6 separate regions of the Homo sapiens genome follow, and regions 2, 3, 4, 5 and 6 are each linked to region 1. Evidence: promoter capture Hi-C in 16 types of primary human blood cells and fetal thymus (Javierre and others, 2016). All regions are on one chromosome and are shown on one strand. The core of a region is centred on a gene start or on the middle of the fragment in contact, and the rest is flanking DNA. Distances in the headings are between cores, read along the strand shown. Region 1 holds the start of C11orf58 (chromosome 11 open reading frame 58). Region 2 overlaps PRMT3 (protein arginine methyltransferase 3). Region 3 has its middle 4.7 kb from the start of HTATIP2. Region 4 holds the start of BMAL1 (basic helix-loop-helix ARNT like 1). Region 5 overlaps BTBD10 (BTB domain containing 10). Region 6 holds the start of FAR1 (fatty acyl-CoA reductase 1).

Region 1 (4,612 bases), core at 1,474-3,973:
CTTAATACCCTTTACTACAGAACTGCAATCAATTTACCTCCTCAATACATAACCTGGTGACTCTTAGAATTTACTCCTACATTGTTAGCGTTTTTCTAGAGTTGTATTGTGATTTAGTATCTACTTTTAATAGTAAAAAAATGTTTTGTTACCTCAATTAGATGTGAGGTCAATGGGCATAAGAAAACTTCAATGATCTCTCACATACCGTGGATGCTCATTAGAAACTGTTTCCCAACTATATATTATAACTAGATTTTTTTTTTTTTTTTTTTAAACAGAGTCTCGCTCTGTCGCCCAGGCTGGAGTGCAGTGGCGCCATCTTGGCTCACTGCAAGCTCCGCCTCCCGGGTTCACGCCATTCTCCTGCCTCAGCCTCCCTAGTAGCTGGGACTACAGGCGCCCGCTACCACGCCCGGTTAATTTTTTTGTATTTTTTTAGTAGAGGCGGGGTTTCACTGTGTTAGCCAGGATGGTTTGGATCTCCTGACCTCGTGATCCGCCTGCCTTGGCCTCCCAAAGTGTTGGGATTACAGGAGTGAGCCACCGCGCCCGGCCTGCTAGTTTTTTTTTTTTTTTCTGCAACAGCTTGGAGGTATTTTAATGAATGCATTACTTATGGTTAAAAAAATTTTTTTTTTAAGTACTGGCTGGGCGAGGTGGCTCACACCTGTAATTCCAGCACTTTGGGAGGCCGAGGTGGGCAGATCGCTTGGGTCTAGTAGTTGGAGACCAGCCTGGGCAATGTGGCAAAATCTGGTCTCTACTAAAAATACAAAAAATTAGTCGGGTGTAATGGTGCACACCTGTAGTCCGAGCTACTGTAGTGGTGGTGGGGGAAGAGGGGGTTGAAGCAGGAGGATCACCTGAGCCAGGGAGGTGGAGGCTGCAGGGAGCACTGATCGATCGTGCCACTGCACTCCAGCCTGGGCGACAGAGACCCTGTCTCACCTGTCTCAAAACAAAAACAAAACCCAGGTACTTAAAGATACGCTTATATGATTGGGAAAGGTCTTCAAGGTCGTCTAGTTTAAACCGACCTCTTCCGAAGCTGTAAACTTAATGACTTAATCCCTTTAACTTTGTTAAATTTCATATCACCTGGAGTTTTCTGTCACGCTAAAAGATATTTCCAAACAGGTGTCTGATATCCTAGCAATCAAGTCACATTTAAAGATCAGGAGGAAAACAATGTAACAGCTTTTTAAGTGGCAGCCAGGTTACTCAAAAGTGTGGATCAATTCCTGACAAAACCTGAATTACCATATTAACAAGATCTAAAATCCAGTAGCAGAAATAACAGAGAGCAAGAATAAACTTCTCTAGGTGCCCATTCATCCCCAAATCTTTACTGATTGCTAATCTTTCTGCAGAGCTGAAGTCGATTCCTTTAAAGATCCTTAATATTCCGGTCCTCGCCCCACCTCCCATCAGAGGGGTAGGTCTTAACATTATCTCATTTGCTACAAAGTAGTATTCAGTGGGCTTTTAAAATTTTATGAAGAGCGTTGAAATGCACTATCGAAAAATTTAAAGCTCTATGTATTCAGAAATTGACAGTACTTTAAACAAAACCGAAAAAAAACCTAGATATCCCTTCATCTTCCTTAAAGATGACCTCTCCGCGCTCTCTCCAACAATTTTCCCCATCAACGTTGCCAAGACACTTATCCATTGTATGAAGGACCTAGTTTTACGTTTACTGGTTACCTACCGTTTCCATGACACTGGGCTAGGAGCTAGGACAAATATACAAAAAGGCCTAAAATAAGCATCATATTTCTCTCCGAATTCCCAACACCCGGCAGTGCAGTAAATATTTAACGGGTTACTTTAAGGGATAAACCGTTTGCTATTAAAACCTATGAGGTGAGGGCTGAGGAAGGGAACGGCATTTGATGGGGAGACGAGGTAAGAAGAACGAGGTATTAATATCCGACATCAAAATGGGCTTCTAGGTCTCAACGTCTTAGACCTCACCACCAGAGCCAGTACCAAATTACACCCGTGGCACAATTTTCGGCTCAATACTGTTCTCGGTTTACCCTTACTAGTGCAGCTAAAGTTAACTCTCAACAGCACATTGTAAAAATCATCCAGGCAGGAAAAATCTGTACAAACGTGCACGAACATTTCGACATTGTCACGGGAACATTTAGAACCCAAAACAGGGAGAGTCTTGCCGTCTCTATACTGAGTACAAAGGCCCGAGAAAGCACTCTCATCGGCCCCCCAAAACGCACGTACGAAATCCCTTGACTAAGCTCTTTCACTCCTCGACCCTCTCAGAATTTCCTTCCTCAATCCCCCTTCCTACGCAGGTCTCCGGCTCTCAGCGTGTGGGCCTCTTCAAACCTTCTGACCCTCATAAAGATTAAGGGAGGCATTTCCCACTCATTCTTCTGGTTTCTTCCCTGGGCTCTCCCGCTGCAGGCCACCTCAGGCGCGTCCTCCTCCAACCACCCTTCCCGGCCTACTCCAGGCTTTAGTAGGCCTCAACCCTCAGCCACTCCGCCATTATTATTTACATCGTCGTCTGGGGAGGCTGAACGCTTCACCCCATGCGGGTGAGACTCTCTGGCAGCACTCATCCTTGCGGGGATCCCGACGAAAAATGCCGAACCCTCTCGCCGCTCTTCCCAGCCGCAAAACCAGCAGCTTACAATCCGCCAAGGGCCCAAGCAGCGCCACTACAGAACGCAGAGCCCCTCCGGGCCTTCTCTGCCACAGTCGTCACCGTTGCGGCCCCTCGCCGCCCCGGGGCACTTTGGGAGTTGTAGTTTTCTGATTCATTGCATACTGGCCCGAATAAAAAAGATGTGTCCGTGACTAAAACTACAATTCCCAGGAAGCCCCGAGGCTCAATTCGCGCTGTGTGGCGGGAGTGCCCTCAGAGGCCCCGCCTTCGGCTGGTGGAGGAAGCGTTCCCGCGGATGTGTATGGCGGTGAGCGTTGGCCGAGAGCTTTGTCGCCACAGGAGGAGGCTTAGAGGGGTTTTTGCCTTTCACCGTGCAACGCTGCCCTACTGGCAAATGTATCATCGTAGCTAGGCACCTATGTTTAAATGTAATGTTTGAGGCTGACTGAATCCTCACGAATACCCTCCACCCAGGACAAAAACCTTAACCAAAAATGGCTTCTACCATTTCCACCCTGGTGTTCTCTATTGCGCGCAGGGGATTTCTAGGTGGTCGGTGATGCTGCTTTCTAAATGTTTTCATGAATATTTCGCTGTTTTCCCATACAGAAATGAGTTCAGTATGTTGTTAAATGTTGGCTAATTGGCGGTTGTTGAAAACGGGGATTTAGCTGAGGGAAATCTGTTAAGTTTTCATATGGCTTTGTGTGAGGTGGGAGTGCTCCTCACTGACCTCGCTGTGGATGTCTGGGCACCGTTACAGTAGGGGCCTTCACCAAGCAAAGTCCATCCCTGCCACAAAAGCCTCTATTTTTTTTCTTTTTTAAAAAAAGTAATTATTGAGGTTAAATTCACATATAAAATTAACCATTTTTTAAAAAGTGTACAATCCACTGTCACTTAGTACATTCACAATCGTGTGCAGCTGTCACCTCTGATTCCAAGAAGTTTCACCACTCCAAAAGGAACCCCAATGCCCGTTAGCAATCCCTCCCCATTTCTCGCCCTCTCTCCAGATTCAAGTGATCACTCCTCTACTCAAAAAGCCCTGCATTTAAAGCTATTTATTGTTCAGATACTGAAGACTATCTCCTACTTTATTAAGGTGTCTGAATTTGTAACCAGGTCTGAACTTAACTTTCTGTCAGAATCCTTGTCCTTAATAATTCTGAAGCTTTCTCACCTTGAATACAAATGTGATTTTTTTTTTTTTTAAGCAAAAATTAGGCCTGGCGCCATGGCTCAGGCCTGTAATCCCCAGCATTTTGGGAGGCTGAGGCGGGTGGATCACGAGGTCAGGAGTTCGAGACCAGCCTGATCAACATGGTGAAACCACGTCTCTACTAAAAATACAAAAATTAGCCTGGCATGATGGCACATGCCTCTAATCCCAGCTACTCGGGAGGCTGAGGCAGGAGAATCGCTTGAACCCGGGAGGCGGAGGTTTCAGCGACCCAAGATGGCGCCACTGCACTCCAGCCTGGGTGACAGAACGAGACTCGGTCTCTAAATAAATAAATAAATAAATAATAAGTGGTATGGATAATACATATCTGCTGTTTCAGAACTGAGAGCAGTCTGTGAAACAATGCTTAGCTATTAGCTTTTGAACTCAGCAATTGCTCTAGTTTCACTGCCTGTGTACAAATATTACTTACCTAGATTTCAGATCCTCACTGAACTGTGACCAGTGGAAGGTAGTTTTTAAATTTATGCAGTCATAGATTCAAATTCTCCCTTATTTTGGAAGCAGAAAAATAGCATAATAGTAAGTACTATAATAGAAAAAGAGATGTCAGGGTTACATTTTATAAGTATAACCAAACAAAGAACATCTTAATGGTTCTGTGGTAAGAATAAATCATAAAGGAGGAGGAGAGTAAACCCAAGAGAAAAAAAAGAAACATTGTTTTAGGAAGTGGTTGATTGCTTTTTGCTAGAATTAAAATATTTTCACTACTACATAATTCTACT
Region 2 (4,612 bases), core at 1,107-3,606, 3.7 Mb before region 1:
TTCAGTAAAATATAACAATTATAAATGTGTATAAACCTCACATAAGAGCTCCAAAATACATGAAGCAATTAAAGGCAAAACCAGACAATCTTTTGATCACAGAGTTTTTAGTTTTTTTAGACAGAGTCTTGCTCTGTCACCTGTATACCAGGTTCAAGTGATTCTCCTGCCTCAACCTCCCGAGTAGATGGGACTACAGAAGCCCGCCACCATGCCCGGCTAATTTTTTGTATTTTTAGTAGAGATGGGGTTTCACTGTGTTAGCCATGATGGTCTGGATCTCCTGACCTCGTGATCTGCCCTTTTAGCCTCCCAAAGTGTTGGGATTACAGGCGTGAGCCGCCACACCTGGCCGACTATTAGTTTTTAAGCAACTTAACTTTTCTACTGAAACTAACTACCTGATGAAGCATTTAGATAATTTTAAAAAGCATGTCTTTTCCTAAAACACTCTACCTCCATTTTGCCGTTAACAAACGGCCTTATGTTAATTAAAGGAGATACACTTATGTTCATCTTACCAAATTGAAGTAAAAGGTCATCTTCTAATACTGGCTTCAAATACTCTTCTTTCTCCCAAGGCACTGGGTTGTATATGGAATTCATGTACTCAACTGTAGGATTCTGGATATAAAATTAATCTCATGTTTTTTTCATTACATATAATCACAAAATCCCCTTAGTAAAAACTACAGAAATTAAACAAAAAGGAAATCATGTTTGCATTACACAAAGTCAGTATGTCTCCAAAAAGTCTACGTGCCTGTCATTTCATTAACTTGCTGGACGACTGCTTAACCAGCAGTTTCAACGCAGAGTTTTTTTTACTGTTTGGATTTGGGGAAAGCGTTGTCATGTCATTAAACATTCATTTAAACAGGACAAAAAAAAAAAAAAACAAAGTATCTGAAAAAAAACAGAATAAAAAAGAGCAACCAAAATACTTAAAATCACATTAGAAATTATTTCTGATTTTACAGATCCTGTCCATCAGTATTTCCCTTTATTTGACACTGAATTACTTTTTCACATACACCGATTCATCTCTTAGATGCAGTGAAAACAATATTTGTTAGTTATGGTAGACATTTACATGGTGCTTTCTGCTGTGCTACCTCCTAATGTCCGTGATTCCCCCAATATGATGAGTACCAAATTTAATGCAGTTCCTCATATTCTTTTAAATAATCAGTACACTGACAGTCACTGTAGCATTTCTTTGATTTCTAAACGAAATTATAAATTAAGCTGTCAACTTACCTTAAGTCTAATAAAATTTATTAGCTTAATGTATCCATAAAATTCAAGTCCTAAAGGGGGAAAAAGATAATTCACCTATGTTAACATAATGAGTTTTGTTTAACTGACCTATTCTATAAAGCCTTCTCTGATTAAACAATAAAATAATTCTGACCTCTAAATTACTACTTATATTTTGAATTTTATTAAGAATTAGAAGTAGTAATACAATGATACTTCTGAATATCTTGAGAAGCAGCCATAAATGACAAATTAAAGCTTTTCTAGTATTTCTAAAAAGATGGAAAACTGATTTCTAAAATTCTACTCCTCCTTTGTCAGAACAATACAAATCTGGAAAATTAAGATCCACATTTTACCAAGTATTTGGCAACTGATATCAGAGCTGAAAGTATTAAATCCCTAATTTTTATGGTGTGTATCAAATTATAATTTTGCCAGGACATGGTGTATACTAGCTTTTACATGAAGTTAAATGATGCAAGCCCAATAAGGCTTGTTATCTGGTTCTCGTATCTTTCCAGAAATGAAGCAGCATTTAAAACAAAGGAAAGCAGTAATACATCCAACCAACCAATTATTTGTCATAAAACTCTTGTTATGAGAAAACTTTAATAGTATACAAACCCCCTATATCGGTAAGTAAAAAAAAAACAAAACAAAATTCTATCTTAAGTATGATTCTAATACTTTAGAAATGCAACATTAAAAACATTAAGGCTGGGCACAGTGGCTCATGCCTGTAACCCCAGCACTTTGGGAGGCCAAGGCAGGCGGATCACCTGAGGTCGGGAGTTCCAGACCAGCCTGACCAACATGGAGAAACCCTGTCTCTCCTAAAATACAAAATTAGCCAGTGTGGTGGCGCATGCCTATAATCCCAGCTACTTGGGAGGCTGAGGCAGGAGAATCACTTGAACCCGGGAGGCGGAGGTTGCAGTGAGCCGAGATCGTGCCATTGCACTCCAGCCTGGGCAACAAGAGCGAGACTCCGTCTCAAAAAAAAAACAAAAACAAAAAACATTAAAAAATGAGGCTGTCATTTATGCCTTACGAAAGTACTTGCAGTTGAATTTATGATTTATAAACATGTGATATCACGTATTTATCTGACACTGAAACACCTGTTAGTATTTGCTATTCTTCAGTAATGTCCCTTCTTAGTTGTCAACAAATATAGGGACCAAAAAACCTATTATTTTTTTTTTTTTGAGACGGCGTCTCAGTCTGTCACCCAGGCTGTAGTGCAGTGGCATGATCTTAGCTCACTGCAACCTCCGCCTCCCGGGTTCAAGTAATTCTCCTGCCTCAGCCTCCCAAGTAGCTGGGACTACAGGCACATGCCACCATGCCCGACTAATTTTTTGTATTTTTAGTAGAGTTGGGTTTTCACTGGGTTAGCCAGGATGGTCTCGATCTCCTGACCTTGTGATCCATCCGCCTTGGCCTCCCAAAGGTTTTCACTGGGTTAGCCAGGATGGTCTCAATCTCTTGACCTTGTGATCCACCTGCCTTGGCCTCCCAAAGTGTTGGAATCACAGGCGTGAGCCACAGCACCTGGCCTATTTAGTTAATTTTATTGTAGTATAGCTCTTCTACATCCATTTAAAGTGGAAGGCCTTAATTGTAAGGCAAGTGTGTTTAAATAAAAGTTTCAATAGAAACATCACCTGAGTATTTTGCATATTAATCTTAACTTCATCACTCTTTTTCCAGTCTCTACCGAACTTTGTATAAAACTCAGTCTCGTAGGCTGTGAAGTTCATGTCATGCTTTGAGCTGATTGTCTTTTTTCAAATGACCTGCGTCCTTTTTCAAGTCCTACATCTACACTTGCTCTCCCTAAATCTAATATGTAATCACATAAAATGTAAAAATGTAATCACATGCCAAGTCTGTTTTTGTTTTTAGTTGAAAAGCTAATATAAGCTTAAATACAGTGAATCTTGTCTAGAAGAGTGACTTATTCATCTTTTCTCAAGGACCGCTTGTCAAAAAAACTCCATTTCCACAAGATGTTGCTGTGTGATTCGCCATATTAAACTCGTACAGAAAAGGGTCTGAAAAACTATAAAATCTGAACTTATATTTCACAGATTTTTTTTTTTTTTGAGAAGAGTCTCACTCTGTTGCCCAGGCTGGAGTGCAGTGATACCATCTCAGCTCACTGCCACCTCTGCCTCCCAGGTTTAAGCAATTCACCTGCCTCAGTCTTCTGAGCAGCTGCTATTACAGGTGTGCGTCACCACACCCAGATAACTTTTGTATTTTAGTACAGGTGGGGTTTCAGCATGTTGGCCAGGCTGGTCTTGAACTCCCGACCTAAAGTGATCCACCCACCTCAGCCTCCCAAAGTGCTGGGATTACAGGTGTGAGCTGCCATGCCTGCCCAAATTTCACAAATTAAATTGCCTTTATTCTAAAAACTACTCACCATGTTTATGAACCATGCTGTCAATATTAAACTGATGCTCAGACTTACAGTGTGAAAATGTTTCTTCAGCAGATGTGAATAACCTGAAAAATCAAGCAATAGCTTCATGGAATAGTCCCCTAAGAAGTCTAAATACTGATTTCATGTTACATATACACTTTTTTTTTTTTTTTAACTCTGCTGGTTTCTAGTTTTACTTCCAATTAAGAAAAAACAAACACACTTGTATCTGAAAGGAAGGGAATCCAGCACTTTTAAAGGGAATTAGTACTTCTGAGTCCCATTTTATACCTAAAACCAATTATCCTTTAAATGTCAAAGTGAATTTATTTGTCAAATAATATCACTGATTTTATCAAAAGGCTTTTAAGAGAGTTCCCTTTGATAGAGTCTGTTTCTCTCAAGTCATACAATTTCTCTACTTGAGATTCTTTTCTCCTCTAAGTGTCAACTCTGCTTTCAGAGGCTTTGAACTGGCACAGCTCAAACTGCTTTTAGAAATAAAGCATAAAATGTAATTTTACAGCTGGCATACTCCCCAAGTGCCTTATTTCAAAAGTGATCTTGTAGTATTCCCAACGTACTTGCATCACAGACACTGTGAGGATCAATCCTCTTTATTATGTGACATGCAAATCTGAAGGCTACTTAAAGACAGGAATACACAGCAGAGAAGCTGTATACCTTATCTATATTCCTAACACATGTGGAGCATTAGTTTTCCACAAATGTTTACCGAGATAGGTTATGTCGACTATTTATGGAGGCTATCACAGCCACGGTACCACTGGTGCTCAATAAATATTTTATGACAACTAGAATATATACAGGCATTCTATCTACCCAATGGGGCTACAGATGAGAACACTAACGCACCACCACTCAGCACCATGCCCAGATACAGGGAACACTGGAAAA
Region 3 (4,612 bases), core at 1,065-3,564, 3.6 Mb before region 1:
CTTTTGGTTGTCTTCCCTTGTCCCCTAAAAATTGCTGTTATTCTGTTCTTTTTCAAGGTGCACTGATTTCATATTGTTCAAACACACGTTTTACAATCAATTTGTACAGTTAATACAGTTATCATAGTGGTCCTGAGGTGACGTATATCCTCAGCTTACGAAGATAACAGGATTAAGAGATTAAAGTAAAGACAGGCATAAGAAATTATAAAAGTATTATTTGGGAACCGATAAGTGTCCATGAAATCTTCACAATTTATGTTCCTCTGCCGGAGCTCCAGGCAGTCCCTCCATTCGGGGTCCCTGACTTCCCACAACACACTTGCAAGCTAGCACGAGCACGTGACAGTGATTTAGCCAACGAGAAGCAAGCAGAGGTAATATGTGCACATTTGAATCACATCTTTATAAGGAAGTTACCTTCTTTCCTTTCACTTTCCCTTTCCCTTCACTTTCCCTTTCCCCCTTTGCTTAGGCCAGAATGTGAATGTACTGGTAAACCAGCTCTGACCATGAGGAGAAAGACACTCTCTAGAGGATAGCAGGGCAAGGAGCCCTTGGATGACTTCATAGAACAGAGCCGCCTGCCCACCCTGGACTGCCGGCACACCTCTGGGGAGTGAGAGAAAAATCAACTTCTGTCATGTTGGAGCCACTGTAATTTTGTTACAGCAGCTTAGCCAGCATTTTGCCTAATGTAAGATTCTTTTAGTCAATCTTGTCAATGGATATTTACTGATTATCTAATGCAAGCCAGATACTGTGCTAGGCACAATAGATTTTTCCAAGGTGAATCAGGGACACCAGCTAAATTCACTCTCATCTTGAAGGCAAGTCATAAATACTTGGGAAGCTAAATAAAGTTAAGCAACATTATAAAACATCCCCCAAACTTTCACAGGGTGGCACATGCTGAAGGCCAAATGAGCATACAGAAATAGAAGGAAACTCAGAGAAAAACAAGTCCATGCCTTTCCTTCTCTGACAGCTGGAACCATGTCATCCAAGTGCTGAGATAATGTGACAAGACCTAGGCTCCTAGAGCAACCGGACCACAAAAATTCAGGGCAAAGGGGAAGGGGAAAGCATAGGGAAGGAGGGAAAGGGGACATAAAGAAACGGAGCTGGCATGGAAAGATCCTTGGCCAGAGACCTGCCTGCCACGTTCAGGTTTGCCTTTGATGAAGTCTCTTCATATATCTTGGCCTCCATTTCCCTATCTGTAAGATGGGAACTGTTTCATTACATTCGCTTTGCTCCAAGGAACAAACTGACTCATGGCGAGTAAAGATGGTGAATATTGTAATATTGTAAGGCTATAAATCATGTATAAGAGAGACAGAATCTCAGAGAAATCTCAAAACAGGATCTGCTGTAGGATGGGGCCTTAGGGAGACTGGAACTGTATTTAGGTCAGATTTAGAGTCCTCAGGATCAGGGATCCATGCATCTTCACTTCAGAGCTATATTTTTAGTTATACCTTCATTAAGACTCTGTTTCACGTGTTTGAAGCCCCAAACTCAAAATGTTTTGAGGAAAAAAAAAAAGGAAATGTCCTGGCTCATGCAACTAAAGAATCAGTGTATATAATAGTCTTGGCATGACCAGAATCAGCCAGTCAGCCAATGGGGCCAGGACCCAGTCCCTCTGCCAACCATGGCTCTATTTCCCTTCACGTCGGCCTTACTCTCAGACCCTGCAAGATGACCCAAAGGCTGTGCTCTTGCTCATACTCTTCATTGTCTAAATTCAACCAGAAGCTAGAGGGAACTTATATTGTGCAGACCAGTTTTCTTCAGGGCATACAATAAGGTAGATAAATGAGGAGAATGGATGATTGAAGCTATCAAGTACATCCCCCTAGATTCAAGTCCAGTAGAAAGAGCATAACTGTAAGCAGAAGTCCCCAGCTGTATCTCCTTAGTTCTGATTAAACCTTATGATTGTCACTGTGGCTCTGGGAATGAAGCCGGGTGGGGCTATCTCTTCCCACATGTCTGGGAGTAGGGGAGGAAGTAAGGTCCCCAAGGAAAGTAGAGGTCACTATTATAGAAAGAAAACAGAACGGATGTTAAATAGCATCTAAAGTGGCTATACTTGTTCCCCATTTATCTCATTTATTTGTAAATATGAATGCTAGATAATTTTTTTTTTTTTTTAACAAATGAGAGCTTTAAATAACTGTAGCATGACTAAGATATCTGGTTGGGCACATAAGAGGTTGGATTTGGTAAAGGTAGGTGTCTGAAAGAAAGTATTGTAATTTTCTGCTCTCACATAACAAATACAACCATGAATTGCATTCAACAGTTTAGGTAGTTGATTTAGTGTATCTATCGTGTTCTTGATAGCTAATTGTTTTTATAGATGGAGAAACTGAGTCACACGTTTATTAAATATATCATCTAAGATCTTGGGATTCAACTTTGGTGCCAGGACAAGAACCTGGATATCCAGATCAATGACAAAATCATGAGTAATACCTGTGTAATTCTAGAATGTTTTCAGGAAAGCATAATTCTTCTTGTTTTTAGCTGATAGCACTGTATTTGTTAAATTCTTCAGGTTCCCTAGCACTCATGGGTATGTCCTCTTACTGATATATACCAAAGGAATAACCTATGTAAAAGCACTGTGGTAGGTAGAAGTATGGCTGGTTTTGAAGGGCCAAAAACCAATATGCTTGAAATGGAGAGATGGAAGCATGGGGCAGGGGCAGGGCAGGGGAGGGGAGACTAGAGAGGCAGGTAGGGACCAGCCTGTGAAGGACATCATAAGATACATTATCATTTATAATTATTGTTAAATTTTAGGTTTTAAAATTTAGCAAACTTGATTTTATTAGATTTATTTTTTATGGTTTTCTTCTATTCAAGGTAGTGAAATATTACCTTAATTACCATTAATACATTTATTAGTACCTGTTACTAGTAGTACATTTAACAAAGTTTAAAAAAAAAGAGGACGTTTTCATAAAATATTAAGTACAGCTGAGTGTATTGTAAACATAGGATATGGTAAACTCATGAAAATAGTATCTGAAGGAGTAAAGTTTGGGAAACACTGGTATGTTGGGCATTTTTCTTTTTTCTTTCTTTTGTGAGATATGATCTTGCTCTGTCGCCCAGGCTGTAGGGCAGTGGCATGATCTCAGCTCATTGCAACCTCTGCCTCCCGGGTTCAAGCTCCCACAGCCTCCCGTGTGGCTGAGACTACAGACACGCATCTTTTTTTTTTTTTTCTCCAGAAACAGGGTTTTGTCATGTTGCCCAGGCTGGTCTTGAACTCCTGAGCTCGAGTAATTATCTGTGTCAGCCTCCCAAGTACTGGGATTACAGGCACATTTTTCATTTGCCCCTCCAGATCCACTTTCCACTCTCTGTATCCTTTTCTGTGACTCCACAGCTGACCTCTAAGGCCTGCATCACCCAGTCTACCTTGTCCTCCTTGACCTATCACCTACCTTGGTGATAAGAGTCACCAGTAGGAAATTGAAGCAGAGGAGGAGTATGGGGTTAGGGGCTTTATTCCCCTGAATTCCTGCTATGAGATTGCTATTCCTCGACCCAAGAGCCTCACTCCTGTCTGATAGCCTCCCTGACAGCTGCAGGCACTCTCTCCAGGTTCCAGTAACCACCTCCTTGCCTCAACCTTTTAGACTTAGGAGTAGAAATGGCTCCCCGCTATTGCTAGCACTGAGACACAGCACCATTCCTTGTTGGGTTTTCTTTAACCCTTCCTGCTTCCTTGTAAATAATCTTTCACTAAATTCTCCCTCAGTTACTCTGTTGGAACATGTTCTCTGTTTCTTGCCAGGACCCAAACTGATACACATGATGTGGTAGAAAGCAACTTTGCAGTCAGACGGAAGTAGATTTGAATCCTGGCCATCCACTTAGTAGCTGTGTGACCTCAGTGAAGTCCAACTAGATAAGCACAATATTTATCAAAACAGGAAGACTCTGCTCTGTGAGGTCAGCCACCACATCTATCTCACTGCTACAGCCCCAGCTTTGGGGCAGTGTTTGGCACTTAGTAGGTGCTCAAGAAAAATGTTTTCATGGGGTAGATTTCACCATACCTTATGCATGAGACCTAGGAGAGTAAGAGGTGAACTAGTCAAACATACTTTATGGATGACCCCCAAGAATGTAGCAAGACTTGTGCAAGTAGTGGATCTTAGACACACTCTTTAATGCAGGCAACAAAAGGAAGGGTTGAGGCTGGTAAAAAAAATTAGAAAACATGTCAAGGAACTGACTGGCAAAGAGCACCCTGCCTACTACACCACCATGTCCCTAGAGATCTCATCTCCTCCCCCACTATCACTCCACCTCAAAAGCCAGTTCCCTTCTGAAGGGGGACTCTGTTGAGAGGGCATGTCTTCTTTCTGATGAGGAGGGAACATGAGGGAAGGCACACAAAGAGACCTGAGGGTCCCAGGGAGAAGACAGTGAAGGAACAACCAGATGGGCAGAGGATTTATGCAAGACCAGGGCTGGATTGGCAGGGAAGCCACAGATGTCATGGTCCCTGAAAGTCAAAAAGAGGTGATGAGCTGGTATATTAGTTTCCTAAGGCTGCTGTAACAAATGACCACACACTGGATGG
Region 4 (4,612 bases), core at 2,113-4,612, 3.5 Mb after region 1:
GATAGGACCCGGGTAGAGGTGAGAAGGAATGGCAGCTGGCACAAAGGAAAGGCTTCCTGTGTGCCAGGCCTTTTACATGCACCATCTCCCTTAATCCTCACACAGACTCCACGAGGCAGGCACTGCCATTACACCAAGAGGAGAAACCTGAGGTCAGAGGAGTCAAGCACACATCCAAGACCACAAAGCCCAAACCTGAGCCATGGATTCTTCTGCCACCAGAGCCCAGGCACTTGCCCATGGTGAGAGGCCAAGAAAAGGAACAGAGGAGAGGTCCACTTGCTTTCTCTGAATTGGGAGGAGATGAGGGGACGATGGGGATAGAGACAGGACATTTTGGGTGGGAAGTAAGAGATGCTGAGGGGGTTGAGTCAGAGCAGGTCTTATTTCATGAGAGGGAGAAGAAAAGACAAGGTGGGTATTTGGGATAAATCTGAGTCTTGTGATAAGGTGACAATGAAAAAAGACTGTGGAGAAGGATAACATGCCTGTGTCCCTAGCTCCCAACGAAACCTCAAGGTCTAGAAAGGATATTTTACTTCCCTGCAAGTACCTACTTTAGTTATCATGATGCTTCCTAAAATCACTGCATGTAATCACGGGGCTGAAACTGTTTATTTAATATTGATTTTCCTACCACAGTGAGAGTTGATGATGAAATCACAAAGAAAGCTCAGATACATTATAACCCTTACACCAAAGAGAGATATTAACTATCTAGTTTTTACCTTTTCATATGCAGTTTTGTTAATACAGCCAAATCTTTCTATGGTGCTTCTCCATCTTTTAGCATATAAATTCCACAGAGATTGTTGGTGTGAAGGGATAAATCTGAAAACATGGCCACTTCCTTTTCCTGCCCTGTGGCATGCAAACCTCTTCTGCAAATAGCAGACAAACTCGTAAGTAGTCATCATTTTATAAATCATTTGAAATGGATTCTTCAAAACACCATCTGTTGATCTGCTTAACTTTCTTATGAAAATAGGGCTTCAGCTCAGATATTCTGGAGGTGCCAGGAGGTAAATACCAACCTGAATTCAAATGTATTAAATATTTAGAGACTTACAGAACTTCAAAAGAGAGGAACCTTTGAGATCACCTAGTTCAACCGTCTTACTTTCCATCAGAGGCAAACACAACCTAGAAATCTTTAATAACTTGCCCCGACTGGAACGGCCATGAGAGCCCAAGCCTAAACTAGAACCAGGATGTCCAGCTCCTAACTCCCAGGTTAGTGCTTTTCTACCAGATCTGTTCGTTCTTCAGAGGGTTGAATAAAGAACAAATTTAACTACAGTTTTAACTTATTGTTATCATTCACTGGCTGCATCTACAATCAAAACCAAAATGCTTCTACAGAACCAGCTTCAGATGATACAGGCAATTTCAAATCCTGTCCAGGAAATTTCCAAACCTTCTAAATATGTTCTATAAGCTGCGTTAAAGACTTATCAGTAAAATGATCTGAGTAACAAAACATGGACTGAAAGACTGAATTTTGTATTTTCAAAAATATTTGGGAATTCCATTGATATGGAAATCAAATATAACACCAGCGAATTTTTTTAAGTCTTGCAAGCAGAGAGAGCATGATATTATTCAAAACTGCTCAGGAGCAGCAATGATTATTTTAAGCTCATGATTCAACGGGTACATTAATTAAAAACTCCACCAACCCAAATTCACAGATCCGGATATCAATGAGACCAGAAGAATTAAAATAATAGTTGTCATTTAATAATAGATTAAAGGGGTGAACAACAGCAGATGTCAGAAGGACAAATGACAAGCAAGCAGGTGTCGTGGGAAATGAATGCATCTAAGGGGCAGCTTTTATGGATGTTTAATAAAACGACGATGCTGGAAATACGGGTATACGGGTAGTGTCAAGAAAAGCTTGTTCACAAATACGGAATCTGATTTTTGGAAGCTGGGTGAGAAAACTTGGCTAATAATTCCTCGCTGAGGAGTAGCGGTGGAAGAAGGAAGAGACCGCAAGCGCCAAAGCGCCAAAACAACGCTAGGTGACCGGGAAGGGGCCGAGGCGGAGAGGGGAGAGGGGTCAGGAGGTGCGGGGTGCGCGGCGGCAGCGGGTCTCTCACCGGCCGGCGAGAACTTGACAGCAGGCGCCGGTGTCCAGCACTCCCCTTCCCTCCCCAGCTCCTGCCGGCGGGCACCTGAGCTCACCCCGCTGCCGGCTCTCGCGACCCCTCGGGGAGGCTAACATGCGCCCCACAAGGTCGACGTTCACCTCTACCTTCCTCGTCTTCTTCCAAGCAAACGGGAAGCTCTCTGGGATGTCAACGCCCGGCAATAGCCGAGCGGGAACCTTTTCTTCCCTGACATCTGTCAAACCCGGAGCTGGAGCCAGGCTCGCTGCGCCCTCCGCGGAGCTCTGGGACTCCAAGGCCGGCCCGCACCCGGGCTCCGGGCGACATCCCCAGGCCGACGCGCACCTGCCCGCAGACCCACGGGGCATCCTTGAGGGCCGCCCAGGACCTGGACGGCACAGGCCCCACGAAAGTTCGCAGGCTGGGGTCGGCCCCGTGCCGGCCGGGGATTCCCGGGTGCAGCGCCAGCCCTGGCTACAGGGCCGAAGGGGCGGGCGGACTTGGACTCCCCAAGCCCGACGGAGACGCCCTCCCCGCCCCCACCCAGCCTCGCGGGCTCCCGAAAGGGAAGTGAAGCGGGGAGGAAGGGCAGACGCGGCACCGTTCGCCCAACGCCCTTGAGGGGCAGCCACCAGGCATGGTCCCCTCGGGGATCCCCGAAGCTCCCGGGGACACATCTAGGAGTCCTCTTCGGCCGAGTCACTGCCCCCAAGGGCAGAGCTATCCCTTTAAGAGGCAGCTAGCTGCCCCCTCCCCCCGCCAGGTAGCGATGCCCGCGGAAGGGCGGTGGGTACTCCAGCGAACACTTTCCCGGCCCCTTTAAGGGCTCCTGCAGCACCTCTGCCTGCCCTAGCCCGCAGCGGCAGCCCCCGCGAGGAGGATGGGGGCGGACGGGCGCGGCGCCTTTAAGGGGCGCAGCCTCCCCACGGCCCGGGTGGGGGCAGGGAGCGGTCACGGGCCCTTTAAGGCCGGCAGCGGGCACGTCGGGCAGGGTTCTTCGGCGGCCGGGTTGCCCCCGGGGCGGCGGCAGGGGCGCAGCGCCCGCGAGGGTGCTAACGGCCCCCGACGGGGTGCGCGGGATCGCGTCGCTGGCCGCCGCCGGCCTGACACTCACCGTGGCTCGCCGGGAGCGCCCGCGCCCGCGCCCGCACTCGGATCCCGCGGCGGCGGCGGCGGTGAGTCCGGCGCGGGTAAACAGGCACCTCCGTCCCTGACCTACTTTCTGCCTTCCCTAAATGTCGCACCACTAACCTACTTTCCGACCAATCCGCTCCCCGCCGGCCCAGGCCCGGCCCCCCGCCCACCAATCGCTGTGCCCAACCCCCCTTCCCCGCCCACCAATGGAGGAGCCGCAGCGCCCGGATACCTGCCTCTTCCCGCCAGCCAATCCGAACGCCCGAAGGGAGCCGGTCCCGGCGGCCGCCCCCAGCCAATCCGCGCGCGGCTCGGCAGCCCGCTGGCCAGTTGTGTGGCGGCTAGAGAGGCCGCTGACCAATGGCGAGGCGGCGGGAGCCGGTTTACCTGCTACTTTCCTGCCACCAATCATTTGGCGCACAGGAGCGCACGCCCCGAGGAGAGGACCAATCCGCGCGCGCTCCCTGGGTTCCTCGCCCCTGCCCTCTCCCTTTCCCCTCAGGTCTCCCACTAGCCGCGGCCACTGCGGTGCCCAAGCCGCGCTCCTCGGGGTCGCCCGGGATGTCCCTCTTCTCTGGGTCCCCTGCCGGCTGGCGTTTGGCCGCCCGCCCTCACCCCTCCTCCTTCTTCTTCTCCCCTCCGGGCATTCCGACGAAAAGCAGCAGTTCCTGACTCCCTCTCTCCCTCCGGCTCCATCTAGGAAACCAATTTTAGGAACGTTGAGTGCCAGACCCTTCCTAAAATCCCTGGTTTGCCAAAGTCTCAACGAGAGAACGGATACTTAGTATTTCTAGAAGGCATTTCCACCCCGAGGACTGCAAGTGTTCTCACGTTCTTTGCGTTCATCATGACCTCCAAGTGTCCCACTGGAGCTGTCATTCCCGTAGTTCCAAAGAGAATACTCGAGCGCGGAGCGATTCCATTGCATTTCCTTCCAGTAGCCAGGTTTTGACCACTTACTGAAGAGTAGACACCAGCCCCGCGGCAGCGCTCTCTGCTGCAAAAAGCTGTCTACGGAGCAAGACGGAAGGAAACAGTTACAGAAAATAAAAATTTGATAACGACATGCGACTCGGTTGCTGAGAGGACAGAGAAAGTGACTTATTTTTGCATCTCAGGCACTTTGTAGAGGGCCTTTAGCACAAAGAACTCCCGGCTCTTCCAGATGTTAAACTCCCTGAATAGAAGGACAGCGTCTTCTTTTTCGTTATCCATCATGTCAGCTCTCCTTTAGCGCCTGCTGGGGTAGGGTGGAGTGGTGGGGGCGGGGCTGGCACCCAACAAGTGCACCATAAATATCTGTTGGCTGGATACATGAACAAATGGAATTAAATAAATTGGCCTAATTCTGTTACCCAGACTGG
Region 5 (4,612 bases), core at 1,251-3,750, 3.3 Mb after region 1:
GAAGGATAGGTATATTAATTGATTAAACTTAGTGCCTTATACATAGTAGAGTTTAATGACGTGTGGAATTGACCTTTGTGGATTAAGCCTCATTTACCCATTAATGTGAAGTAATTTAATCACATAATCTGATTCATACCTAGTTGGGTTATGGGGAATGGGAGTGCTAGAGGTCAAAGCTAAGTAAGAGGTGTTTTTTAGGCATATAGAGGGCAAGTTGGGGGTCTTCACTTGGGATAAGGGTGAGAGAGGAAGTTAGGTAAGGGAGAGAATTTTGAAAAGGAAGATGAAATGATTAAGTACCCATTTGTGTATTGTGCAGTTTTAAAAAGAGGTCTGCCTTTTGTGGCTAAATTTATCATAACTTGTGCAGAGACTACATAGAATACTGGTTTTTAATCAGGACTGCTATGGGAATTTGCAGATTTTCTTTTCTTCATTTTAGCTCAGTCATCTCAGGCCAAGCTAGGCTAATATCTGTTCATTCAATCTCTGCCTCTCTCTGAAATAGGAAATGAAAGAAGAGGAGATATGTATTATGTTTGTGAGGTGCTCCTGTTGAAGAGTTATAAGACTACTTCTGAGGAATTTGTTTTATATTTGAGAAGATTGTGCTTGTTGAAGGGGGAACCATTATTTTCGTCTTTACTTGTTTCTACCATGACTCATAAAGTAGGAAGTTCTTTTTTGGAAATAGCTTTCCGCTTCTTCCCATCCCCTGAGTTGCCATCCCAAAGGAGGATCAGGGGAGGCTAAGGGAAGGGATTGAGTATACTTTTGTTCAGTGCCTTATGATTCAATTTTTGGGACTCTCAATTCTTAGGCTATACATTGTCTATTCATTTGTATGGTAGGCTTATCTGAGCAGGCTGGACTACTAATACTATGAGGGAGAAGGAAATGGAATGCCTACAGTTCTAACTGGGTAAGTTTAATTTGCAGTTGAAGTAATAAGGGTTTTTGCACGTTGGATTTAGTTATATTTTTACCATCATCTGTTTGGATCCTTTATTTTTTGTTGATTCTGAACCGAAAGTAAGGCGGGTCAGGAAGATACAGATGTTACCTTCTCCTGTTAATGGAGAAAGAACTATTAAAATTTTTCTCCCTTTTTAATAGATTCTTCATCAGGGTTCAAGCCAATGTTGCATTTCCCCTAGTGTATCTTGCTCGGGTTTACTTTGAGATCCTTGAAACTGAGACCTAGTTTGCTAAAGAATGTAGCAATCAGCCAGCCAGGCATGGTGGCTCACGCCTGTAATCCCAGCACTTTGGGAGGCCGAGGCGGGCGGATCACGAGGTCAGGAGATCGAGACCATCCCGGCTAAAACGGTGAAACCCCGTCTCTACTAAAAATACAAAAAAAATTAGCCGGGCGTAGTGGCGGGCGCCTGTAGTCCCAGCTACTTGGGAGGCTGAGGCAGGAGAATGGCGTGAACCCGGGAGGCGGAGCTTGCAGTGAGCCGAGATCCCGCCACTGCACTCCAGCCTGGGCGACAGAGCGAGACTCCGTCTCAAAAAAAAAAAAAAAATAAATAAATAAAAAAATAAATAAATAAATAAATTTTAATGCTCAGATACCTGACAGAGAATCTTAGGTACAAAATTGTACAAGCGTTGTTATGATTTTCTTGTTTTTGGGTGGCATACAAATAGTGCTGGATTGTTTCAAAGGTAATTACTTCATTCAGACAATTTATTTTATACAATGCAGGCTTGAATTTGATTTTTCTCACATCAAGAAAGCAAGCGATATGATCTGTTTCTTTCAGCTATTCATTTGTTCATTTAGAATTTTCTTAGAGAAGACCATAACCTCCTGTAAGATGGTTAACTGCGAGACATTCTTGTTTCTTACTTAGTTTTCCAAATTGTTGGAGTTTCTCTTTTAAAAGAGAATAATTATTAGAGAGACTGGTGGGATTATGAAACCATAATACTGAAAGTAACTTTAAAACCATTAATACTCCAATTTTTGGAAGAGAAAACTAAAGTGCAAATCAAGCCCCTTAACTGATTTTGATCAAAGATATTGGCAGGCAGTAAGACAGCTGAGACTAGAATACAAATCCACAAGTTTCCTGATTTGGAGTAGTTTGTTCCAGTGATTCCCCCTAGTGGGTTGCATGTGCTTTTGGGGATATATGAAAAACTTGTTCATTGTGCTGTATGAAGAAAACAATAGAACTTCTATTTATTTTTTACTGTATCCTTTTTAAATTTCCATTTCGTGTGTGTGTGTACTATATACATAATACTGGTGTGATAGTATATGTGCATTGTTTATAAATATACATATATACAGCTGTCCGTGTTACTTGAACTCAACATATTAAGAAAAGGAAAAACTGCCATATTTTAAAGTGGTATGGCATCTTTGATCATCTTTGCTTCCCTAGTGAATGATATTATTTAACAGTAGACTGGAACAGTTTTTTTTTTTTTTTTTTTTTTTGAGATGGAGTCTCATTATGTTGTCCAGGCTGACCTTGAACTTCTGGGCTCAAGTGATCCTCTCACCCCAGCCTCCCAAGTAGTTGGGATTATAGGCACATACCGCCACACTCAGCTTGAATGGCTGTTAATTTTGAAACTGTTTTATGATGAGTAGTTTGAAAAATTTCCTATAAAAATAGATTTATTTGGAGTAATTTCTTTCTGACTGTAAAAGTAATGGGTATTACATGCAACTGGGAACATTTAGCAAAGGGCAAAGAAGAAAATGGTACCATAATCCCATGACTCAGTGATAATTGCTTCCAGTCAGAAATATATGTGTGTACACAGATACATACATACACATATGAATATTACATACACCCCTTATTAATTTATTTGGAGTATGTAAGTCATTATGTGGTTCAAATATCTAAAGTATATCGAAAGAGAACTCAGAAGTCTTGATTACATCCCTATTACCTTCACCCCAGTCCTACTCTGCCCATATAGGTAACCATTTTGATTAATGTCTTTTTTATACTTTGAGTTGTTTTCTTTACAAAAATAAATACATGTGTATTTGTCTTTGAATATATGTACATATTTTTAAGTTTACCCTTTATGTTACAAAAGGTAGTACAATGAATACTGCTTGTTCTGTACCTACCTGTTTTTTGCTGTTGCTGTTTAACCTAACGATGTATTTTGGATATTAATCCGTTATTCTATTGTGTGGATGCATGTAGTTTATTCAGTTAACTCCTTTTGATGCACATTCCGATTGTTTTAGTCTTTTACCATTACAAATAATGCCACAGTGAATATATTTACAAATATTTTATGGAATATTAGTGGAGTTGTATCATCTTTGAAGTAGGACTAGTAAGTGTATGTGTAGTATTGTTGGATATTACAGAATTCCTTTCTACCAGGGTTATATAATCTGTGTTTTTCTTTTTATTTTATTTATTTATTTATTTAATTTTTTTTGAGACAGGGTCTCACTCTGTCACCTAGGCTGGAGTGCAGTGGCATGATCACCGCTCACTGCAGCCTTCACCTCTCAGGCTTAAGTGATCCTCCCACCTCAGCCTCCCAAGTAGCTGGGACTACAGGCATGTGCCACCATGCTTGGCTAATTTTTGTATCTTTTAGTAGAGATAGGGTTTCACCATGTTGCCCAGGCTGGTCTCAAACTCCTAGGCTCAAGTGATCTGTCCACCTCAGCTTCCCAAAATGCTAGGATTATAGGCGTGAGTCACTGCGCCAGACCCTCATTTGTACTTTTCATTGGCAGTGTATGCCAGTATTGAGACTGCTTCTCCACAGCTTCACCAACAGAGTATATGGCCAAAATTGGAGGTGTTAATTTGCATTTCTTTTATGAGTGAGGTTGAACATATTTTTATGTTTAAGGCCATTTGCCTTTATTTTTCTGAGGATTGCCCATTTCTTTGTGCATTGTCTGTTTTGGAGAAGAGAAATTGTCTTTTTCTTTCCTTCTTTAAGGAACTCTTTATATACTATGAAATTAGCCCTTTTAAAAAAATTACTTGTTTTTAAAACTTTATTTTTTTCTGTGCTTTTTGCAAGTAGTGGTGTTTTTCGTAGGCAAATAGGAAAGGCTTTCTCTCCTTCCCGGTTGTCAGTGAAATCACCCATAATTTTTCTAGTATTTGTATGATTCCAGTTTTTACATTTAGATAGTTGATTTCATTTGGAGTATATCCTTGTATGTGGTATGAGGTACGAATTCAGTTTCATGTTTTCCTGAATGTTTATTCAGTTGTCCCAATACCATTTATTAGTGTCTGTCTTTTCTCGATGACTTGAGCTATCACTTCATCATATATTGAAGTTCTTTATGTTTTAGGGCTCTGTTTCTGGGCCTTTAATTCTCTTCTATTGGTTGGTTTGTCTATTCATGCACCACAGACTTTCAATTATTGAAATGAACCTTAATTCAAAGATCTTTGAATATAACAACATTTTTAATTTTATTAAAGTGGAATGCTACCTATAGTACCAAGACACAAAGATGTGTAAAATGTTTCTTTGTGAGCAAGTGTTTTGTCTCAGGGCAAATTTTAGATTCCTTAAACTTTTCGGACAGTGCAGACGTAGAACATTTCCATTATCACACTGTTGTGATAATGGAAAGTCGCGCTGAGCA
Region 6 (4,612 bases), core at 596-3,095, 3.1 Mb after region 1:
CGAGACCAGCCTGGCCAATATGGTGAAACCCCGCCTCTACTAAAAATACAAAAATTAGCCGGTGCGGTGGGGCATGTCTCTGTAGTCCCAACTACTCGAGAGGCTGAGGCAAGAGCTGATCACTTGAACCTGGGAGGTGGAGGTTGCAGCGAGCCAAGATCGCGTCACTGCACTCCAGCCTGGGCAACAAAGCGAGACACACACACACAAATTTATAAAATAAAAACAAAACAAAACAAAAATTATAAAATAATTTTATGGAAAATGTATGGAATAACAGGGCCTGGGTGGGGTGGCTCACCCCTGTAATCCCAAGCCTTTGAGAGGCCACGGTGGAAAGATCTCTTGGGCCGAGGAGTTTGAGGCTGGAACGAGCTATGATCTCGCCACTGCACTCCAGCCTGGGCGACAGCAAACCCTGTCTCTGTTTACTTTTTAAATTAATTTGAAAAAAATACATCAGGATTGTACTTATACGTTAATTCTCACTTGTATTACTGTAAGAGATCTTGCATCATTTTTATGCTATATTACACATGCCCAACATGACAGCTGAGAAACTCCCCTGGAGGGCAGATTTTCTGAGAGTATCTTCTGATGTTGTCTTTAAACCAACACTTTTTTTTTTAACATAAAGAATTAAGGGATTCCTGACTGCCATCTAGTCAAAAGCAAACAATATGTATGCCATTACTTCGGAGGGAGTGAGTTCTTGTGCTGCTGAGGCAAAACGAGATGAACTGTCACAGGGATGGCAGGAGGGGTGGAGTGTAGGAGGAGGATCAGCCCCAGTAGTGAGAATTAAAAACTCTTTTGAGTATTTGGCCCTCCACTAGCAGTAAATTAACCTTCAAACCTGACCAAGACACTACCTGAGACCCTCCACTCTCCGACACCGCAGAATCAGACAACTGTTCTTGCTCAACTACTCATAAAAGATTCACAGCCTTCACCTACCACACATAAATCTACCGCGTTTGCTGCTTGTATACTTTGTCCTAACAGACCAACTAATGCCTTCTAGTCCAATAGCCTCCCGTCCACACCTCACATAAAACCTTCTCAGCCACCTTCCGGTTTCAGTAGGTGCCTCTTACTCCAGATCCACGTGTCCCCAGTTCTCCAGAGACCTTCACCTTCAAAACCCAAGCCCGTCCCCCCTTCACTCCCAGCTGATCTCCACCCAGGCCCTATCAATCCTTACTTCTAATAGGCCAACCACACTCCCCGGCCCCGCGCCTTCTCCCTCAGCACCCTTTTCTGAGCATCACCTATTTCCCACCACTTTCTTCCTCCCCAGACCCGGAATCCTGCAATCACTAGGCCTCCCTTTGCCGCTACCCTCCCGCGAGCACGCGGAGCCCGCTGCTCGGCTAACCACCCCGCCCCACCTTCGCCACCTCTAGCGGCCTCCCACCCCAGGCGGCTCCCCGGGCTCCGCGGCTGCAAACCAGGCCCCACCGTACGTCCCCCACGCGGTCCCGGCCCTGTGAAGGGCGGCGGCGGGGCAAAGAGGGGCAGAGACCACCCGGGGTGAGGCGGGCGCCCTCACTTCTGGGCGTACCCGGGCGGGGGCGGGGGCGGGACGGCTGGTCGGCGCCCCCGCCTCGGCCAGGCCTGCAGCCCGAGCTCCCGCAACCACTTCCCGAGCCAGGCGAGGAGGAGCCCGCAGCCCGGCCGCTCCCGCTGGCGCACCCCCTTCTCACCTAGACGCAGAGGCTCAGGCCTCGCTCTCCCACTGGCCGTCCAGCAATAGCTGCGCCGCCGCCGCCGCCGCCGTCGCGCTCTCTTCACTCGCTTTTCCACCGCCCGCGACCGGCTGCTGAAGAGCGGACGGGCAGTGGCACGCCCATTGGCTGAGGCCCGCAGTCGCGTCAGCCGGCCCCGACCGCACCTCGCGACGTGACTGGCTGGAGCGGCGCCTCTTTTCGACATCCGCTTTTGATTGGCTCTCGCGCACACCCTTATCCGCAGGACCAGTCATCCTCCTCCCTGCTTTAGCCTCTCACCCCCAACCCGGTTTCCCTCCGGGCGGGAGTGGGGCGGGAGCGGACGCCCGCGGAACGCGAACGGCCAATGGGGGCGCGGAGAGAGGGCCGGGAGGTGGGCCCTGCGGCCGGGAGGCTCGCGGGGGAATGCTCAGCCAATGGGCCCGCGCCCCACATCTCGAGTCCTGGAGCGCCCCCGCCGGCTGCTGGCGTCCTGTCGGGTCGCGCCCAGGGCCACGCCCGGCTGTCCGTCGCGCGGGAGGGGCGCCAACTCCCAAGGTTGGGAGCACGCAGCGAGGCCCGCGCGGGAGACAGCGGGGCTGCCATTGTGGCGTGCTTAGCGCTATTATGGTGGGGCCCGGGGGCCCTCCGGCCATTGCTGGGCGTGAGGGATCCGTTCGGAGAACTACCAGCTTGGCGGGTGTGGCCCGGGTCGGTGAGAGCGAAGAGCTCTACGGACCCCTGGAGCCTCCACGGGTCTCGCCCAGTCCCAGGGGACTGTGGGCCCATTCATTCCACCTTCCACTTCCTCCAAAATAATTCCCTACAAAACTTACCGGTAGTGATAGGAGTTAGAATAACGTTTACTTCTGAGGGGTGGGGCACGAGGGAACCTATGGAAAGCTGGAAACATTGCGTCTTGATCCTGGTGGTCGTTCCGGGCTGTGTACACATGGAGGAATTCATCGAGCCGGACACTTAATAGTATTACCACATTCATACGGCTCATTTTTAAAAAATAATAAAAGGATCATGAGAATTCTGTAATAATATTACCACAATCTTTGGGCTCCGTGGGACTCCATTGTATAAACAGTCCGCATTAGGATTTAGCTGTCATTCAAAACATGCAAGCCATAGGAAGAAAAAAAAAGATTTGTGAGAAGCAAAAATGAGTGAACGCTCTTGGCACGGTGAATAGCATGCACAGGTTGGTATTTAGGGATGGATGGCTCAGAGTGATTTTTCTGTGGGGATTTAGAGCTTGTTTCAGTGCCTGGCCCTGTTAGTAGCTAAAAGCAGTCATAGTGCTGCATCCAGTTGGAAACTACAAAAGCTCACTGAACTGCCTACTTTGTGGCAGATGTTAAGTTCTGGCTCAGGAAACTAATTTGAATGCCATGGCTTCTGCCTCGATGAGCTCACAGTCTTGCAGCAAGTACTGTCATTTCTGGAGGAGGGCACAGAACACAAAGCTAACACACTTGCTTACCCTCAGGGATGTCGCATTCCGCTACTTTAGGCAAGACAGTGTATGCCTGGAACCCATCCAGTCCAATAGCCATAGTCATAAATAGCCAGGATCAGGTGAAACACTTCTTAGAAGTGGGTCAAAATATTCTCCCAAAACAAACGTAAGAACTATGGACCAAATTCTAATCTGTAAAAGAACACAAGCAACAAAACAAAGATTACAGTATTCATATTTATTAATTTAGTCATTAAGTTGTTTAAATCAGGTAAATGCCTTTATTTAAAGTGCTTGTCACTACACTAGGCATATAAACTTGGATATGACAGTATTCCACAGAACATAGGGTTTAATGGAGAGACAGACATAAACAATGCCAGTGTAATACAGGATGAGGGAATACCTAGAAAGAGGATGTAACCCAGCATGGGGGATTCAGGAGCATGTTAGAACATGTGTAGCTAAGTTAACCACTGCTAAGGTTTATCAGTATACTGATAGGGTAATATCACTATAGGAAATAGACACTATTTCCAGAAAATACTTCATAAACTTTTTGTTGTTTGTGCATATGTCTTAATTTTAAAAATTGATATAAGTACAAAAGCAAAGTAATGCTTAGTTCTGAGGAAAATATGATGTAATTATTAAGTAATCACTTAATAAATGATTCTCAAAAATAGCCGTACACTTGAGAGCACAAAGGGATCTCATTTGATTCAAGTCAATGTGTATGAAATGTGTGCCTCCGGCAGACCCCCACAAATGGACAGAGTGCTTTCTGGAGGAAGACTTTAAAAAACAATGGATCACTCTCCAAGATGGTACAATTTCATGGGTAAGGCATGTTGTATGACTCGAATCTTCCATAATATACTATCATTCTTAAATGAATTCAGAGAATTAATAAATCTACAAAAAGTGAGTAATAAAAGGCAGTGAAAGATTTTGCACCAGAGTTTAAACTAGAAAAATGTAATGACATCAATCATTCATTCATCTGCCTTTCCCATCTTTATTCAGCAAGATCCCTGAAAATTGGGCGCCATATATTGGTATCAACTGCATTATAATTTTATTCAAACATGAAACAACTCTACATCTTTTTGATCCATGCTATAGAAACAATATCTTTTAAATGAAGGTAAATTACACCAAGCCAAAAATGTACCATTATAGTTTCTAGCCTAAAGGGAGATACTATATATCATTGAGAAAATATATAGGAATAAAGACCAAAACGAATATGCTACCCTTAACGTGGTTGGCATATTGGCCATAACGTGGCTATTATGACTCTCAGAATTTCATAACATTTTTAGAAACAAAAAACAAGTTCAAGCATTTTTATGCAAATACTGCTCTGAGGAAACAGTTTTCTTCTGGCATGTGTCATTTTCTAACACTTTTTTTGTGGAAATGTCTTATTCAG

The links. The method cuts DNA at HindIII sites, captures the fragments that hold promoters and counts their contacts. A CHiCAGO score of 5 or more calls a contact.
Region 2: a contact is called between a fragment that was not itself captured here and the fragment with the promoter of C11orf58 in region 1, in 8 of 17 cell types (naive CD8 T cells, total CD8 T cells, total CD4 T cells and 5 more). The highest score is 15.3, in naive CD8 T cells.
Region 3: a fragment that was not itself captured here is called in contact with the fragment with the promoter of C11orf58 in region 1 in 5 of 17 cell types (non-activated CD4 T cells, total CD8 T cells, activated CD4 T cells and 2 more); the score reaches 10.4 in non-activated CD4 T cells.
Region 4: the fragment with the promoter of BMAL1 here is called in contact with the fragment with the promoter of C11orf58 in region 1 in 4 of 17 cell types (total B cells, naive CD4 T cells, naive B cells and 1 more); the score reaches 6.9 in total B cells.
Region 5: a contact is called between a fragment that was not itself captured here and the fragment with the promoter of C11orf58 in region 1, in 1 of 17 cell types (total B cells). The highest score is 5.3, in total B cells.
Region 6: the fragment with the promoter of FAR1 here is called in contact with the fragment with the promoter of C11orf58 in region 1 in 1 of 17 cell types (naive CD8 T cells); the score reaches 5.9 in naive CD8 T cells.

The regions. Positions count from the first base shown.
Region 1 is chr11:16,736,758-16,741,369 of GRCh38, reverse strand. C11orf58 (chromosome 11 open reading frame 58) reads right to left here and starts at 2,723. Exons shown (of 5, transcript NM_014267.6): 1 at 2,529-2,723. The coding sequence starts at 2,591. It also overlaps a transcript of SOX6 not described here. RefSeq lists an enhancer at 2,220-2,849. The HindIII fragment of the contact is 4,072 bases long and covers 1-3,814 here.
Region 2 is chr11:20,388,909-20,393,520 of GRCh38, reverse strand. PRMT3 (protein arginine methyltransferase 3) reads right to left here. Exons shown (of 16, transcript NM_005788.4): 3 at 3,695-3,777; 4 at 1,261-1,310; 5 at 522-624. Among named protein-coding and RNA genes, the nearest start is that of PRMT3, 3.5 kb to the right of the region's middle. The HindIII fragment of the contact is 1,671 bases long and covers 1,521-3,191 here.
Region 3 is chr11:20,356,682-20,361,293 of GRCh38, reverse strand. No RefSeq gene overlaps it. Among named protein-coding and RNA genes, the nearest start is that of HTATIP2, 4.7 kb to the left of the region's middle. RefSeq lists an enhancer at 342-561. The HindIII fragment of the contact is 7,195 bases long and covers 1-4,612 here.
Region 4 is chr11:13,276,540-13,281,151 of GRCh38, reverse strand. BMAL1 (basic helix-loop-helix ARNT like 1) reads right to left here and starts at 3,362. Exons shown (of 20, transcript NM_001297719.2): 1 at 3,229-3,362. RefSeq lists silencers at 2,352-2,691, 2,972-3,041, 3,112-3,761. The HindIII fragment of the contact is 3,232 bases long and covers 1,902-4,612 here.
Region 5 is chr11:13,455,979-13,460,590 of GRCh38, reverse strand. All of the region lies in intron 1 of BTBD10 (BTB domain containing 10), which reads left to right. Among named protein-coding and RNA genes, the nearest start is that of BTBD10, 4.9 kb to the left of the region's middle. The HindIII fragment of the contact is 7,206 bases long and covers 1-4,612 here.
Region 6 is chr11:13,665,901-13,670,512 of GRCh38, reverse strand. It overlaps FAR1 (fatty acyl-CoA reductase 1), which reads right to left and starts at 1,845. Exons shown (of 12, transcript NM_032228.6): 1 at 1,707-1,845. RefSeq lists an enhancer at 1,286-1,335 and silencers at 1,416-1,695, 1,806-2,295. The HindIII fragment of the contact is 7,046 bases long and covers 1-4,612 here.